Regions from separate parts of the Homo sapiens genome. Here region 2 is linked to region 1. Evidence: promoter capture Hi-C in 16 types of primary human blood cells and fetal thymus (Javierre and others, 2016). All regions are on one chromosome and are shown on one strand. The core of a region is centred on a gene start or on the middle of the fragment in contact, and the rest is flanking DNA. Distances in the headings are between cores, read along the strand shown.

Region 1 (2,700 bases), core at 129-2,628:
GTAGTATGTGGTTTTGCCTAATAAAGTAGTATCATAGCAAAAAAAAAAAAAGAAAACGACTTCCAGACCTCCTTCACATAAATCCAAATTCCTTCAGCCTTGGGAGTGAAGGAACCAACCAACCAGGTCTATAAACTGCAGGAGGCTGGTGGCTCACGCCTGTAATCTCAACACTTTGGGAGGCTGAGGTGGGCAGACTGCCTGAGGTGAGGAGTTCAAGACCAGCCTGGCCAACATGGTGAAACCCTGTCTCTACTAAATATACAAAAATTAGCTGGGCATGGTTGGCGGGTGCCTACAATCCCAGTGACTTGGGAGGCTGAGGCAGGAGAATCGCTTGAACCCAGGAGGTGGAGGTTGCAGTGAACTGAGATTGTACCACTGCATGCCAGGCTGGGCGACACAACGAGACTCTGCCTCAAAATAATAAATAAATAAATAAATAAATAAATAAATAAATAAATAAATAAAAAACAACAGGCTGGGTGCGGTGGTTGATGCCTGTAATCCCAGCACTTTGGGAGGTCGAGGCAGGCGGATCACCTGAGGTCAGGAGTTCGAGACCAGCCTGACCAACATGGTGAAACCCTGTCTCTAGTGAAAATACAAAAATTAGCTGGGTGTGGTGGTGCATGCCTGTAATCCCAGCTACTGGGGAGTCTGAGGCAGGAGAATCGCTGGAACCCGGGAGGCGGAGGTTGTGGTGAGCAGAGATCGTGCTATTGCACTCCCAGCCTGGGCAACAAGAGCGAAACTCCGTCTCAAAAAAATAAATAAATAAATAAACAAAATAAAATAAATAAACTGCAGGGGAGAGAAGTTGCAGCTCAAGTCAAGGGCACACCAGACAAATGCCATTTTGTTATGCAAGCTGATCTAACCTTATAGAGGGAAATGGAAGAGCTCAGAATGTCTAGTTGTCAGGGGAGAAAAAGGAAGTCAGGGAGTGACTTAGTCAGGTGGCCATTCCTATGATGGACTTCTATGTAGCCGTGGAAAATCATGTGGCAGCAGAACCCTGAATGATACGCTGGCAGAACCCACCTCCTGTGGCAGAGGCTGAAATGCATGTACTCAACTTTCTCAGCCGCCCCCGCCACAGGGCAAAGGCATGGAACATAACCTTGTTTAAGGAGATGTAAGAGGAAGTCTCCTTGGTGCTTTAGGAGAGGGTGTCCTGCTCAGTGGACAGGCCACAAGGAGAACATAAGCGTGTCCTTCCTTTGGACACGTGTCCTTCCTTTGGTTGGGTGCTTGAGCAGGCATCCTGTACCAGCAGGGGAAGGTGAGTACTGGCTGAGAGTGATACAGAGCCCCACACTGCTGAGCTGCACAAAAACCAACCCATGTGGGATAACAAAATCCCATCCTCCAAACCCCTTTTAGTCTGGTATTTTGTGTCTGCGGCAGAGAGCATCCCATCTGTTGGAGTCTGTGTGTGCAGATGCAAGAAAAACACAGCTGGGGTAAGTCAGTGTATTACAATGCTCGTCTCTGGGGGTAAATGGCTTATCATCCTGTTTTTGCCTTTATGCTTTTCTGGTGTGTGTGTGGTTTTTTTTTTTTAGGCTTTCCTGAAATTACAAGGAAATTTTAATTAGCAAGAAAAAAATTAAGGGAAGAGAAGGATAGAGTCCCTCATAAAGAGTGAATGGGCTCCCCACTCCAAAACATCAAGCCACCCATCGAAAGAAAGGGGTCTCAATTTGTGTTCTTAAGAAAAAATTTCCAGCTGGGCACAGTAGCTTGTGCCTGTAATCCCAGCACTTTGGGAGGCTGAGGTGGGCGGATTATCTGAGGTCAGAAGTTCGAGACCAGCCTGGCCAACATGGTGAAACCCTGTGTCTACTAAAAATACAAAAATTAGCCAGGCATGGTGGCACATGCCTGTACTCCCAGCTGCTCAGGAGACTGAGGCAGGAGAATCGCTTGAACCCCGGAGGCGAAGGTTGCAGTGAGCCAAGATTGCACCACTGTACTCCAGCCTGGGCGACAGAGCGAGACTCTGGCTCAAAAAAAGAAAAAAAGAATTTCCCAGAAGATGTTCTTGGTCCCATCTATTATACCTTACTAGGCTCTATTTTAACACCTACTTACAAAGTAGTAGCTCAACGTATCTTATGTATGACAGAATCTCAGTCAACACTTAGTTTAAGGCAAACAAAGATAGTCACAAAAAACACTAGTGTGAAAATAATTTCAAGATGAGGAGAAAAATCCTTAGCCCCCAAGTTCTCTCAATTCAGCTTTGAAGCCCAGGCTGAACCTGCGCTATTTAACCTTTTCTCAATATTTCTCCACAATTTAGACAGTGTGCTGGCAGTGCGGTTGCTGGCCTGAGTCCTGTCCCATCTCCTCCGCTTCCTTTTTTTTTAAATCCCACCAATTTTTACTGTTTGCTTTTTTTTTTTTTTTTTTTTTTTGACATGAGGTCTCACTCTGTCACCCAGGCTGGAGTGCAGTGGCGCTATCTCAGCTCACTGCAACCTCCGCTGCCTCCCAGGGTTAAATGATCCTTCCACCTCAAATTCCTTAGTAGCTGGGATTACAGGTGTGTGCCACCACTCCTGGCTAATTTTTTGTATTTTTGGTAGAGACGGCGTTTCGTCATGTTGCCCAGGCTGCTCTTGAACGCCTGAGCTCAGGCAATCTGCCCGCCTCGGCCTCCCAAACTGCTGGGATTACAGGCATGAGCCACCG
Region 2 (2,700 bases), core at 169-2,668, 180 kb after region 1:
GCACTCCAGCCTGGGTGACAGAGCAAGACTCCATCTCAGAAAAAAAAAAGAAAGAAAAAGAAAAGAAAAAAGAAAAAAAGAAAAGCCTGCTTGGAGGAAAGGAAGGAAGGAGCTGGAGAAAGATAATACAATCATCTAACCTCACTCTCAAAGTGTGGTTCCCAGACCACCAGCGCTGGCTGATCAAAATTTATGAAGAATGGTCCCAGGCAGGTTCGATTTTATCTATAATTCTCATTTCTTGAAAAAAAAGCAAGTAAATTTAATAAAATATTAATGCCACAAAGTTGGGTTGTAAATACATAGATGTTTGTCACAGCATTTTATATATTTTTCTATATGCTTGAAGTATTTCATAACTTTTTTTTTTAAAGAAGAAATTAAAAGGCAGGAGACTCACCTCTCCTCCACCTGGGCTCTAGGTTTGGGATAACCCATTTATCAGCTGGAACCCAGAGGAATGTGAGGGCATCACGAAGATGAGTATGGCAGCCAAGAACCTGTGGCTCCCAGACATTTTCATCATTGAACTGTGCGTATCAAGGGCTGGTCAGAGGGAAGTCCCATCTCCTGGTAGCCACAGAGATCACAGTTTACCATTGGGGCCACTGTAAGTGGTCTTTAGATGGCTAAGAAACAACCAGAGAGATAAGAAGAGAAACTGAGCCAGGCGCAGTGGCTAATGCCTGTAATCCCAGCACTTTGGGAGGCCAAGGTGGGTGGATCACTTCAGTTCAGGAGTTTGAGACCAGCCTGGGCAACATGGTGAAACCTCATCTCTTAAAAAAAAAAAAAAAAAAAAAATTAGCCAGGCCTGGTGGTGCGCCTGTAGTCCCAGCTACTTGGGAGGCTGAGGCTGAGACAGGAGGATCATTTGAGCCCAGGACATGGAAGTTGCAGTGAGCTGAGAGCATGCCACTCTACTCCAGCCTGGGTGACAGAGCAAGATCCTGTCTCAAAAAAAAAAAAAAAAAAAAAAGAGAGAGAGAAACTGCAGCACCTGCCTCTTGCGTTATCTCTCCTCCAGCATGGATGTGGATAAGACCCCAAAAGGCCTCACAGCATATGTAAGTAATGAAGGTCGCATCAGGTATAAGAAACCCATGAAGGTGGACAGTATCTGTAACCTGGACATCTTCTACTTCCCCTTCGACCAGCAGAACTGCACACTCACCTTCAGCTCATTCCTCTACACAGGTAAGTTGCAGTGAGGTCTCAGGGATGGGGTGAATGAGAGCAACCAACAAATATAAAGAAACTATGAGTAAATGGTGACCAAGGAGTATGGGTGGGGAGAAGAATAAGGCTCTATGGATGCTAAAATATTTTCCATAAAGGCAGAACCCAAGTCTGTCTTGTTCCTTACCATCCCAAGCTCCTGGCAAGTTTCCTGGCATGTGGGAGGCACTCAAAAATATTTGTTGAAAGAAAGGATGGAAAAAGAGTGCAGTTGAGCCACCAGGAAACTATCTCCTTGAAAAATGATTCAGATGGTTCTCATTTTCAGTGGACAGCATGTTGCTGGACATGGAGAAAGAAGTGTGGGAAATAACAGACGCATCCCGGAACATCCTTCAGACCCATGGAGAATGGGAGCTCCTGGGCCTCAGCAAGGCCACCGCAAAGTTGTCCAGGGGAGGCAACCTGTATGATCAGATCGTGTTCTATGTGAGCTTGGAGGCTCTTACTCTTTCCTTCCTCCCGCACTTTTACCCTTGCCTAGAATGTCCATCAAATATGTATCTCCCAAGTTTCAGGGTCTCCCAATGTTACCCTCTCTCCTGGCTTCCCAGCCTCATTCTTCATCCTAAAGCTCAGGGCTCTGGCCTAACTGTCTCTTTGCAGGTTCTATACCAGATTCTAAAGCTGCATTCCCCACAGCTCCAGATCCCAGGGTGATATCAGGCCAAAGAAAAAGGCAGAGACAGAAATTGTCACTGCTATTCCTGGATTTGAGGGTTCCTCTGACCCCATAACTACTTACCACCCTCTCCTACCCCACCAGGTGGCCATCAGGCGCAGGCCCAGTCTCTATGTCATAAACCTTCTCGTGCCCAGTGGCTTTCTGGTTGCCATCGATGCCCTCAGCTTCTACCTGCCAGTGAAAAGTGGGAATCGTGTCCCATTCAAGATAACGCTCCTGCTGGGCTACAACGTCTTCCTGCTCATGATGAGTGACTTGCTCCCCACCAGTGGCACCCCCCTCATCGGTATGGCTCCTCCCACCTTTTGGAAGAGAAGGGTGGGAACTAACTCAGGAAGGGAGGTATTTTGGAAAAAGGAGGCCGTATGCCTGCCAGGGTGGGATTGGAAGAGAAGAAATTCTAGGTGGTGCCTCTGGCCCTCACTAGGCCCCCCTTCCCTCCAGGTGTCTACTTCGCCCTGTGCCTGTCCCTGATGGTGGGCAGCCTGCTGGAGACCATCTTCATCACCCACCTGCTGCACGTGGCCACCACCCAGCCCCCACCCCTGCCTCGGTGGCTCCACTCCCTGCTGCTCCACTGCAACAGCCCGGGGAGATGCTGTCCCACTGCGCCCCAGAAGGAAAATAAGGGCCCGGGTCTCACCCCCACCCACCTGCCCGGTGAGGGAAGTCACATTCCTCTTCCCCCACCTCCACTTCTCTGCTCCTGCCTCCTTCCCTGTCTCCCTCCCTCCACAGGTGACATTTGCAGCCCATGGCTGAGTCTCTGTCTTTCT

Evidence for each region. The method cuts DNA at HindIII sites, captures the fragments that hold promoters and counts their contacts. A CHiCAGO score of 5 or more calls a contact.
Region 2: a contact is called between the fragment with the promoter of HTR3E-AS1 here and a fragment that was not itself captured in region 1, in 1 of 17 cell types (M1 macrophages). The highest score is 7.4, in M1 macrophages.

What each region holds. Positions count from the first base shown.
Region 1 is chr3:183,921,611-183,924,310 of GRCh38, forward strand. All of the region lies in intron 29 of ABCC5 (ATP binding cassette subfamily C member 5), which reads right to left. Among named protein-coding and RNA genes, the nearest start is that of MIR4448, 36 kb to the left of the region's middle. The HindIII fragment of the contact is 3,947 bases long and covers 1-2,700 here.
Region 2 is chr3:184,103,760-184,106,459 of GRCh38, forward strand. It overlaps HTR3E-AS1 (HTR3E antisense RNA 1), which reads right to left and starts at 1,419. Exons shown (of 3, transcript NR_133658.1): 1 at 1,367-1,419; 2 at 401-629. It overlaps HTR3E (5-hydroxytryptamine receptor 3E), which reads left to right. Exons shown (of 9, transcript NM_001256613.2): 4 at 423-532; 5 at 1,028-1,197; 6 at 1,508-1,668; 7 at 2,006-2,210; 8 at 2,369-2,584. The HindIII fragment of the contact is 6,162 bases long and covers 1-2,700 here.